Linked DNA regions of Homo sapiens: region 1 is linked to region 2. Evidence: promoter capture Hi-C in 16 types of primary human blood cells and fetal thymus (Javierre and others, 2016). All regions are on one chromosome and are shown on one strand. Each heading gives the region's core, a stretch centred on a gene start or on the middle of the fragment in contact. The rest is flanking DNA. Distances are from core to core; before and after follow the strand shown.

Region 1 (5,884 bases), core at 723-3,222, 260 kb before region 2:
TTCATACTCCTGTTCCTCCCTGATGGTGCCCTCGGTCACTCGGTGGTGGGGACGGTACTCTCCCACGTCTTCCTCCTCACTCTCACTGCTGCTGCTGCTGCTCTCAGAAGACAGGGAGGTGGAGTCTTTTTGTGTCACAGGCTCCACCTTACGAATCTCCCCAGGACCACTCCCAGGTGATATCTCTTTACCATTCATTTCTTCTGTGATTACTCTTTCGTCTTTCCCAACCTCTGCCCGCTTCTTCTCCTCCACTATATTCAGAGTCTCATGTGAACTCTGTACAAAAAAAGATGGATGAGGGAAAACAAAAATATATGAATAAATAAAAACAACGGAAACCCAAATTAACCGATGGCAGATTCATGTCATGGAGAAAAACAAAGATGATTATGATGGCTGACTGAAAGGGAAGCGGGGCAAACGTGAGGGCAATGAGAAACGTGAGGCAATGGTGTTAACATGGAAAAAGGGGAGAACCTTAACAGCATCCCTGGCTCCAGTGCAAGGCCCTTCTGACTCGGGAGCACGTGTCTGCAGAACAAAAAGCAACCGAGGACACAAAATCAATACAGTTTTACCTCAACAACCACTGAAACAAACATCTGACACTGCAAAGACAAAACAGCAAGAATCAACATCTACAGAAACCTCTGCTCAAGGTCACATAGAGGACAATCAAGACAAATGCCAAAAAGCTTACAAAAAGACACAAAAACAGCCAGCATCCTCCCAAAGAAGTAAAATGCTTTTATTATAGATATACCTATAAGCTCTACCTATGTAGTTAAAACAGTTTACAAAAATTGAATTATACCAAAGCTGACTCATCATTTTAAAGAAAAAAATTTAACTTTTAAAACCTAGTAACAGTTTTGGTTTTAATCAGACTATAAAGTCTAGCCTGGAACGCTGATTCTTAAATGAACACAGCACCAAGGAGATGGCACTTTTATTTTTTGCTGGTTTTCTTTAAAAAAAAAAAAAAAGTTTTAATTGGCAAAATTATAGTTAGCCTCAGAAGGCTATTAACATGAAAATGTTCATTCCAGAAATGGTTATTAACTTTCCAATTCGTATCATAGGTTGGCAAAGGCTATATTATACAATAGGGTGGGTGTCAATGGTGACTCCAAGTGTTTCCTTTTACAATTTAGCTCCTCTACTAGCATCTTTGAAATCTAAACTCAGTCAAGTTTATTATTTGACATGTTCACTCCTATCCCCTTCAGACATCTACTTCTTGGGAGTAAAGTAATTTACTCCAGTTGAGTAATATAGCACCTAAATGTTCAATAAATATCTGTTGACTTAATACATTAGGAACAAATTACTATGTTATGATATTATTAACTAGGGTGGAAACCTTTTTGTACAGAGGGGTTTTTAAAGCTTCACATTTTTCTCACACTTACAAAAAGTCTGCTTTACAATGATATAACTCAAGCATGGCCAACTTTTTGACTTCTAGGTGGTACTACTGCCTATGATCTAACTTAAAAATAATTCAGCTAGAGCCAGGAGCCCTATTTATTCACGAAAGTGACTCCATTCTGGATGGAGAAGGGCACCACACCACTGAGCCCTCTGGATATTGTTGTGAAGCTGCCAAGGTACTAACTGGACTGGAGCCTCTAATAGACAGCAGGGCTGAGTTCATCTCTCCCAGACACTTGGACAACCATGAGCTGAAGATCCTAACATCACACACACACGTCTCTGCAGCACTGTCAACGTCTACTCACAAACTCTCTTGGACCTGCCCTATTATTCTTAAACACATGGTAAGGGCATGGTTTCATTGACCCAAATTAATACCATGTAAATCACATTACTAACAGAAGACAGCTATCTTTCCAGTTTTATTGAAAACTCAGAGGTTTCTAGATATTAAACTGAAAAAACTCTCAATCTATTTTGATAAGCAGGTAAAATTTAACCATGACTACATATAATAAACATATCCAGTGACCAGAACATTTCTGAAACACACATTTCATTATTATTATAGATCAGTGAATTATTATTATTGTTATATCTTAACCTCAATTAGCTGGATAGGTTCTGCCCAAGTTCAGGGAATTCCTTAGGGTCATTCAAAAGCAATTATGTCATGGAGCATGGGAGGCACTTCAGATTTTTTCCATATAAACAGAATTTTAAAAATAACATGCCATCAGAGGATGCCTGAAATTTGGGGTTTTGAAAATGTCAACTCTGCAAAGCATATCTGGTTGAGGGTTTCCCTCTGCTTAACAGCCCAGACTCTGGAACTTAATGATTTAAATTATTCTCTGAATTTAGGCAGATTTTTTTTTTCTTTGACCAAAGAAGCAGGAGAAACATCCAATCTATATCTTTTCTTCATGTTCCAATTCAGTCATTGTTTCTTGAATGTTTCTCCCAGGAAGAATTAATTTCACCAATGAAAGCACTGGAGGGAATGGTGCCTGAATATTTAAAAAAATGAAAATCTCTCTCATATGTGGCTTTTAGTAACAGGGGAAACAAAGTAAAATGCACCTCAAGCAAGTGTGAGAAGGGCGAGGAAGAAAGCTTTTCAGAAGGTGCATTAGCGCTCACAACAGCGCCCTCTGCTGTCCAAGTGGTGGCTGAAGTGAAGGTGGCTTTCATGCTATCAGAAAAGCCCTTTTCACTAAACAAAATTGATGTTATCTCCTCTTCTAGGCTCTAGAGAGGTCAGAAAAGGAAGAGCAAAGAATTAGCAATAAGTCAGAACAGACAGCAGTGACCTATTGGAAGAAAGGAAAGGTTACACAAGAAAGAACAACAGAACAGCATAAAATGAAAGAAAAGATGAGAATTCTGACAGATTCTGGAGCAGGCTTATGAAGAGGTTTGTGAGCGCCAGCTTTTCCACCCTGCTTGAGAATCTTTGATAGTTGCGACCTCCAGAAACCAGTGAAAACTGCTTGGCTGATCACCAACTGAGCACAACCGACCCACCCAAACGCCATTTCATATATTCTTGAGGTAGTTCCTTGGCCTTTCTCTGCACGGAATGGCCTCTTCAGTGGCCCCTACACTTGAAATGCTTATTCCTGTGTTACAGCTTGGGCAGTCCTCCCTCTCCTGCCTCCAAGGCCCTTCTTTGCCCTTATCTGCACATTCTGGGCCTTTCCAGTTTTCTAACCTCCCTGAGGCCCACTTCATAGTCTGCATTTTCTGTAAGGCCTTCCCTCACCACTCCAACTCCTACAATCTCCCTCCTCAATACCACCTTAACTCTCTGTACAACAAACATTCTGACAGCAGCCCACATTCATTCCCTCAGGCGTGCTAAATATGCCACAGAGTAAATTACCCTGTCCCCTTTTTTTGCAAAAAGAAACAGGTAAAGAAAAACAATTCAAAATAGGAAGACAAACTCAGAGTTGAAAGCTCAATGAGCAACGTGAAAATTATTTCTCCCTAAATTAAACCATTAAAGCAAATTTAACTTTGCTGTGTCTGGCTCTTAAACAATGGCTCCCAACCTGCCTGAGGGACAGCAGAACTGTCCTTAGAAACTTGAAATGTCAATATTCAAGAGTCATCATGAAGCACCCCCTCATGTCAGAAGTGTGAGAATAATTCCTAATAAACCCCACTATTCAGGTTTTTTTTTTTTTTTGAGACGGAGTCTCGCTCTGTCACTCAGGCTGGAGTGCAGTGTGCCGCGATCTCGGCTCACTGCAACCTCTACCTCCCAGGTTTAAGTGATTTTCCTGCCTCAGCCTCCCCAGTAGCTGGGATTATAGGCGTGCAGCACCATGCCCAGCTAATTTTTATATTTTTAGTAGAGACGGGGTTTTGCCATGTTGGCCAGGCTGGTCTCTAACTCCTGACTTCAGGTGATCTATCCTCCTCGGCCTCCCAAAGTGCTGGGAATACAGGCGTGAGCCACCGCACCCAGTCACTATTCAGAAATCTTAAAGAAAAATCAATGACGCTCCTAAGGGGCCCCTTCATACTGTGAGCTAAGAAGGGTGAGGAGCGCAGAAAGTGAGGTGAGGAGGGTGAGGGGAGTAGGCACTTGCAATATTCAGCAGAGGAAAAAGCTTTTGGACTGACTTAACTTCATTACCATCTCTATGATTACATCGTCCCTTGGGGAAGTGGGGGTGGGTGGGATGCCCTTCCCAGTGAGAGATCACTGGGGAATTTAAAGAAGTGCCACACATTTCGTTATCCAATGACATACCTTCAAAAGTACCTTACAACTCAATGTACATAATCTCTTAGACTCAGGAGAGAATAGTCTATGCAAATTTAAGTCATCATAATTCATACAACACGTTAAGAGGATTACAATAGAGTTATTTACCCATTAAAGATTAAATGACTTGGTTTCCAATTTTCTGCTCTACTCTCAAAATTGTTCAAACTACAGCCACTTTGAAAATGCAATGTATTTTTTTTTTTTAAAAAGAAACTATTCCTGCTTTTTTAAAAAGCTATAAAAGCCCATATTATAGAAATTTGGAAAAGTGGTCAAATTATATACTTATGCATAATTTTTTTATTTTACTTTCAATAAGAATTACAATTCAAAGATAAACGAGAACCCCTGCAGAATTAACAGTAAAATGAAGATACAACAAAGACAGAAATTGAAAAGGTACTCTGGTAAAGTCAAAACACTCCCGTAGACAAATGCTCACATACTTTCAACTAATAGTAGTATGTTATTTAAAGAAAAACAAAAAAGATACAATGTAGGTGGTCAATAAATGTTTGTTGGGCAAACGGATGAATGGATGATTGTAATAAGAACAATCTATATGAATGTCAAAAAAGTATGTATTTTCCTGCATGTATTGGAGAGGAAAAGAACAGAAAAACAAGTAACTTCAAGTACAGATAAACCACTTGGGGGCTTTTCCAGATTTAAATTTCACATTAACATCACTTTAATGTGACTTCTATGACAAGATATTTTACACTGTACATTCCTAAAACATGAGATCCAGAAAAATGATAATAATTTTAAACATCTCCACTAAAATGTCAAAGTTTCCTACTGCAAAAATCCAAGGACATCACTTTAAATTTGATCGAATGATACCATGTGATTGCTTCTGAAGGACAGGTTATGAAAAATACGTAATATTTCAAAGCATGTGATATTAAAGTCCTCATTATACACATGGAGTCTAATTGGCTTTGGTTTCAGGCTAACCTTTAAAGTATATAAATATGTCACTTGGTTTAGCTTCATGACATTATCTTTCTCATTTGCAATGTTCTGAAAATATTTCATCTCAACTAGACCATAAACTCCTTATTTCTACTTATTTTGCCTCCTTTCCCAACCCTGCTACGTGTTCTGATGAATACTCTCTACCAATTAACAGAATCTACTTTGTGGAAGGGAATCACTGTTTCCTTATTAATAATCTCTGTTCTCATTCACAGCCCCTATAATCTATTCCTCATCCAGTGCCAGGGGGACTTCTGTCAGAAACAGGTGGGATTCTGCCACTACTCACCTTCAAACTCTCCAATGCTTTCCCATCATTCTTATTGTACAATTCCAAACTGTTAGCATGGCCTTTAAGATCGTGACATGACCTAGGGTCTAACCTCTTTGAATTTTCCTTCCTTCGTGCTCCCCCTTGCTCACCAAGCCCCTGTCATTTGGTCTTTCAGTTCCTGTGTTGTGGCTCGTCCTTACACGTGGATACATTTTCACATGTCCACCTGGTTATCATTAAGGTTTCAACTCAAATGTCATCTCCTCCTGACCACAATGACAAAACGGTCTTCCTAATCCCCTCCTAACACAACATTGTATTTCACCTTCTTAACATTTACTTCCTAGTGTCTGAAACTTTCCAAGTACCAATTAGAAAATTTTCTAATCACCAGCCGGGTGTGGTGG
Region 2 (6,126 bases), core at 3,627-6,126:
CAGCTGACCTTGTTCTTTTCATTTGCAAGAGATGTCACCATGAAGACTGGGAGAATCCACTGTGGCCAGGTGAATTAGCAGGCAGCTGATGTGCGCGAGGGCAGAGGACTTTCCGGAGTCAAGATTGGACAAATGGAACTCAGTGAAGCAAGGGCTGGGAACAGGTGGTAGCTTAGAATGATTCATTAGATTAGTTTTGCCAGACACCACTTGGAAACCCAAAAGTATTTTGGAGGAATTTCACAAAGGACTGGCGTCTTGGCATGAGTTGGTAGGTTCATTTAGCTATTAAGATTTAGATGTTAATGTTATACTTGCAGTTGGCTTTGCAGGGAAAAAAAGAAAAAAATAGAAATTAAAAAATTTTTAAAAAAGAAAAAACATTTAGATGTTAAAGTTAATGTTGGCTAATTTTTAGCCTTAAGCTGGAGAAGCTTGTTCAGGCGTGAGCAGGTATATGCAAACCTATCCTGAAGGGTTGTGGGAGCTGAGAGGCTGAAGAAAGTGACTGACAAATCCAGTTTTTCAGAAAGAAATATTTAACAGGGTCTTATGAACCAAAGTGACTCTCCAGAGGCCATGAGATTACACATCCTCGCATCCACCCTCCAGAAAGTATTCTAAGACTTGGGCAGTTGGTCCCATCTCAAACTTATGACCACTGGGGAGGTCAGATAAGCATCTTTATGAGGGGTTGTCTATGCTAGATGCTTGGTTTAAAAACCTTGCTGCAGAACACCTTTGCATGCAGGAGCCAGACATTGCTCTTCATGGAGGTTTTGCTTCAAGATGGCGCCACTCTTGCCACGCAACAGGCTGTTTGCCAACAAAACTGTAGGACATTAAGATTACCCGTGATATTGTTTCTCTTTCTTTCTTTTTTTTTTTTTTTTTGAAATTTATCTGGGAGTGCTGCTTTATTTTTTGACAAATCTGAGTACTTAATGGATCTGGATGCTTATAAAAGTTTTATTCATTCATTGAATGTCTATTCATTGAGAAATCTCTATGCATTTGGGAATACGAAGACTTTAAAACATAGTCTTTGCCTTCTAGTGGCGTAAAGTCTAATGTATGAAACAGAAAAATGTGGCAAAAGGGATGGTCAGAGCGGGCACAAGGAGTATTAAAGCCCTCAGGTGGAGTACCTAACCCAAGTAGAAGGGTGGGGTCAGGGACTGTTCCCCAAAGGAGGTCACTGACAGTTCCTACTGATCTTGACCATAGCTGCGGTCCCCTGTGACAGCAGTAGGACAGTTCAATGTACTGATGTGGGAAACAAACTCTATTTAATAACTGCTAAATGGTGCTGAGAATGAGTTAAGGTTAGAGATAATCGGCAAACTGACATAGAGGCTTAAAAATCTTAAAAATCCCTATAGGATGTTTGGTTATTGACAGAACCAGTTAATATTGAAAATCAATTAAATAGATAAATTCGGCCAGGCGCGGTGGGTCACAACTGTAATCCCAGCACTTTGGGAGGCCGAGGCGGGCGGATCATGAGGTCAGGAGATCGAGACCATCTTGGCTAACATAGTGAAACCCCGTCTCTACTAAAAAATACAAAAAATTAGCCGGGCGTGGTGGCGGGCGCCTGTGGTCCCATCTACTCGGGAAGTAGAGCAGGGAGAATGGCGGGAACCCGGGAGGCGGAGCTTGCAGTGAGCCGAGATTGCGCCACCGCACTCCAGCCTGGGCGACAGAGCGAGATTCCGTCTCAGAAAAAAAAAAAAAAGATGAATTCATAGGTATTAATTTGTTTTATGAAAGCAAAAAAGAACCAGGTTGCCCAATGCTTTAACGAAGGTTCACCTGCAGCACGACTCATGAGGGCATGGATCCTCTGGTCCACACTTCCCTCTCCCTCCGTATGTTCTGCCCATTCCTCCCTGACTATTAGTACACAGCCCTTTTCTCCCCAGAGGACAATATACACTGGCACAGTGCCAAAACAACTGGATTGGAAGGGTTTAGTTTTAAGCTACCACACTGTTCCTGGACCACAACACCCCACCGAGATTTTGAAAAGCCTGAGCCAATTATTTTCTAGAATGTCACACATTCTGGATTGGTCTGATTCTTTCCTCATCATGTTATTTTACTTGTACCTCTATCTCCTGTATTTCTGGAAATCTGAAAATTATATTTAAAGCCTTAGCAGCTTCAGGTGAAATATTTATGGCAAGACTACCTTGCAGTGATGATATAGCTTTCACAGGAGCTTTCACAGATTGTCCACCATTAATGATGCTGAGTTTAATCACGATAAAGGTGGTGACAACCAGGTTTATTTACATGGAGTAAAAATATGTTCTCTCCTGAGCAATTACCAAGTATTTTGTGGGGGGTAGTATTTTGGCAACTTATAAATATTTCGGTCCACATTAACCTTTCATGTAATGGTTTTAGAATATATTGATGATCTTTGCATCAATCAGTTATCAGTTGTGGTGGCAAAATGGTAATTTTCCAATTATTTTATGTCTCCTATATTTATTATTGAAAATTCTTCTGTGCAAAGCAGCTTTCCCATACTACTACTTCTAAAAAGTCATGGTAAATCTTTCTTTCCCTTTAATTTTTAGAGTAAGGAGACTAAGGAATTGCGTACTTGTCACCTTTAATGGTGGCCTACTAGTTTTTCTTCCTCATTTTTTGAGTATTATTATGGGTATATAGATTTTGTATTCAGTATGTTACAATAATTACAGGTGTTATCCTTTTATGATGTCAGATTATCTCCCATTTGCTCAAAGAAAGCTGTTTCTCGCTAGTCCTTGTGTTTTTGATAGTCCCCATTTGTCTTTGCTTTTTGGCACAAGAAGATGTCCAAGGTTCACCTTGTACTTCCCTTTCTCCCTGTCATTTCTAAAAGAAGCTCTGTGAAAAATTCCTTTTTCAGACTTGGGTAATTAAAATGTTCCTCCACATGGTAGGTGTTGATAAGACTCTGTATTCATAATACTGGTGGTGAAAAATATGTGGCATTTGGGCTGTTACCTCTGCTTAGGTAAGAGAATGAAACTTCCATATATCTCTTGGTACACACCACAGGGGAAGAAAAATCTTTCTCCTGCCCATTTAGTTCACTAGGTTGGACTGTGTAAATTAAATTGACAAAAGACAGATTAAGACGAGAAAAGGATTATTACACATGCACATAGATGCTTCACAGGAAAGAACTAAAAGCCCGAAGAGGCAGTTAGAACTGGGGGCTTCTATACCATTTTAACGATGATAAAGTGTGGAGAGGCTAGACAAAGGAAAAGGGGGCTTAGCCTTTTTGCAGTATGGGAAGGTTACTAGAAAATGTATGGGTTTGTTATGCAGGTAAGACTCATTCTCCTCTTTCTGGTATGGGTGAGTGGTAAAGCTTTGTTGTTTGTTTGTTTGTTTGAGACAGGATCTGGCTCTGTTGTCCACACTGGAGTGCAATGGCATCATCTCAGCTCACTGCAACCTCCACCTCCTGGGCTCCAGCGATCCTCCCACCTCAGCCTCTGGAGTAGCTGGGATTACAGGCATGGGTCACCACGTCTGGTTAATTTTTGTATTTTTGGTAGAGACAGGGTTTTGCTATGTTGCCCAGGCTGGTTTCAAACTCCTGGACTCAAGTGATCCACTCGCCTTGACCTCCCAAAGTGTTGGGGTTACAAGCGTGAGCCACTGGGCCCGGCCTGGTAAAGCTTTAAAAATAAAAATTTATGTCACCTTTACGAAGGGAAATTTATGTCCTGCTTTTAGGCAGAAAGGGGGAGGTCAAAGTTGTTCCTGAGTCTTTAGTTTCTGAACTGTTTTAAGCTCAAGAATAATCCTTATGCTGAAGTGGCATATTTGGGGTGGCATATTCTCATCCTCTTCACTATGAATGTGGACCACATTTTTGCAGCTTTTATTTCCGCAGTTACTTATGTTTCTTTCTCTGCTATTATATGATCAGCTCCATAAGTAAAAGACCTGTCTTACCTGCACATCCTCAGCACAGAGCTCAAGCATTAAATAAATATTAGGGGAACTGGTTGTACTTTCCTACCAGCCCATAAATGGGCATCAGAAACTCAACGTGTTAGAATTATTTGAAAATCAGAGTAACTAGTTTGCCGACTTCTAGTGTGCAGCCTTTACGCCAGCTGTTGTGGCTGTGTAGGGGTCTTCTTTTCTTCCATCCCTATTCTACGATGCATTCAACATAAGCGAAGTGTTATTATTCACGAAAGGCGCTAATTTGTGGACGGATGCACCTAATGTTCTTAACCCCTGGTTTCTTCGCACTAAAACCAATCCCAATAGCATTCCGTTTCAAGTGAAAGGTTTTTATTTTTTTAAACTAAGTAAATTTCTTTTTCTCCCAATTTACTCACTGCAGTACCTTATACTACAAGAACCAGCAACTGGTTTCCTCTTAATGTCTAAACATAACATCATTGTTAAAAATTAGAGACTTTGTCACAATTTGCAGTTTTTAAAAGTAAGGTAAATAAAGTATCTCATTATACAGAAGTACAAGGTCTCGTTCTTGTACATTTCGCTCTTCCCAAATATTCTGCAATCAGAACCCTGATTGCAAAACTAAGCACATGGATTCTCAAAAGACACCAGGCCAGAGAATTCTTTCATCCTAGTCCCAATCTCGCCCTTGAAAGCGTGGGAGGGGCAAGGCTGCGCCACGGGAAATAAATGAGGGCTGCCAAAGGCCGTCGGAGGCCGCGGGGCTCGGCAGGCAGGCGAAGACCCAGCGTCGCATTGCAGAGTCGAGACGACCTGGGCTGCCGTGACGCCGCAGTCGCCGGCCCTAGTTTCCCCCGCCCTGCCCGAGCGCGTCCGCGCCTCTCGCCCGAATCCGGGTACCACCGGCGACTCGGGTCGGCCCCTTCTGGCTTGTTCCGGCGTCCGGCCTGGCATGCGGGTGCTGCGGCTGCTGCGGCTGCCGCCGCCGCTGCTGCCGCTGCCGCGGGGGCTGCGGCTTGGGAAGCTCCGCGCTTCCGCAGGCCTGGCCTCCGCCGCCCGGGCCCCCGCAGCCTGTCGCTGGACCCCGCGCCGGCCCAGCGCACCGCCCTCAGGCCCCGAGCCCCGCCCTGGCCTCCGCCTCGGCCTCGCCTCCAGCCCCGGGACGCGGCCCGCCACCGCCGCTGCCGCCAGCCCAGACGCGCCGCCCGCATGCGCCGCGACCATGGAGCGCCCCGAAGCGGGTGAGACCGGGCTGTCCAGCGGGCCGGGGCGGGGGCGACAGGAGCCGCGGGGGCCTGGGCCTGCTCTGCGCTCGAACTTTGGGAGGGCCTGACCCGCGCCGGCCCTTCTCCGAGTCTCCCTCCTTCCCAAAAGGACTCAGGGTAGCACCGAGAAGCCCGGTGCAACCGGGGTGTACATCAGTGCTGCCTGTAGCGAAGCGTTTTAATGCACGCATTGTGGGTCCGACAGGAGGCGGGGGTATGAGCCCATCCCCGAGTTTCACTTTTCTTTCTCCCTTTCTCATCCTGTGACCCTTTGCACAAAGTTCATGCCAGTACACATTCCTTCCGACGGTGTTGATGTGGGTAAATGTAAACAAAACCTAGTAAAATTTCGATTTTATCTTATATCACAAATATTAAGCACCCGAACCACCATACTGTCTCATTTAGGATTTTCTGCCAGGTTTGGACATGACCGCTTTTAAAACTGGCGCCAAGTCTACACTAGCGCCCGGAATGAATTTCCAGTTTAGGTCAGCGTTTGTTGTGAACTGAACTTTGTGATAGAGCGAGTTAGGGGTGGACTTTCGGTAAAAGGGTCCGCAAACCAATTAGAGAAAAGGTGCTCCTCTGCAAGAGTTTCATAGGATAAACTCATAGAAGAGTATAAAAAGCATAAAAACGTTAAAGTGTACTATATAAATAGCAGTTAATCGTGTGAATATGTTGACAATTGTTAAGTGAATGATGACAGTGAGTTTTTGCATTTAGGAAATGCATGGGAATGGAAATTGTTAAGGAGAAAAGAGCCATACTCCAGTTCCTTGTTTAAGTGCCGTGGCTTTGCAATTCAGGATCCTGTTAGCATATCTGTATATTTTCCTTACTCATAAAGTTTAAGATGTTTGTGGAGGTTACTTCCTCCTTTCATCCATTTTCGGACACTATTAAC

The links. Contacts are between HindIII fragments. The CHiCAGO score rates a contact against its expected background, and 5 or more counts as called.
Region 1: a contact is called between a fragment that was not itself captured here and the fragment with the promoter of AKAP7 in region 2, in 2 of 17 cell types (M0 macrophages and M2 macrophages). The highest score is 5.6, in M0 macrophages.

Annotation. Positions count from the first base shown.
Region 1 is chr6:130,869,848-130,875,731 of GRCh38, forward strand. It overlaps EPB41L2 (erythrocyte membrane protein band 4.1 like 2), which reads right to left. Exons shown (of 20, transcript NM_001431.4): 15 at 1-279. Among named protein-coding and RNA genes, the nearest start is that of SMLR1, 45 kb to the left of the region's middle. The HindIII fragment of the contact is 1,164 bases long and covers 1,391-2,554 here.
Region 2 is chr6:131,130,591-131,136,716 of GRCh38, forward strand. AKAP7 (A-kinase anchoring protein 7) reads left to right here and starts at 4,877. Exons shown (of 8, transcript NM_016377.4): 1 at 4,877-5,192. The coding sequence starts at 5,174. RefSeq lists enhancers at 4,508-5,008, 5,445-5,504 and silencers at 4,835-4,924, 5,075-5,184. The HindIII fragment of the contact is 7,096 bases long and covers 3,688-6,126 here.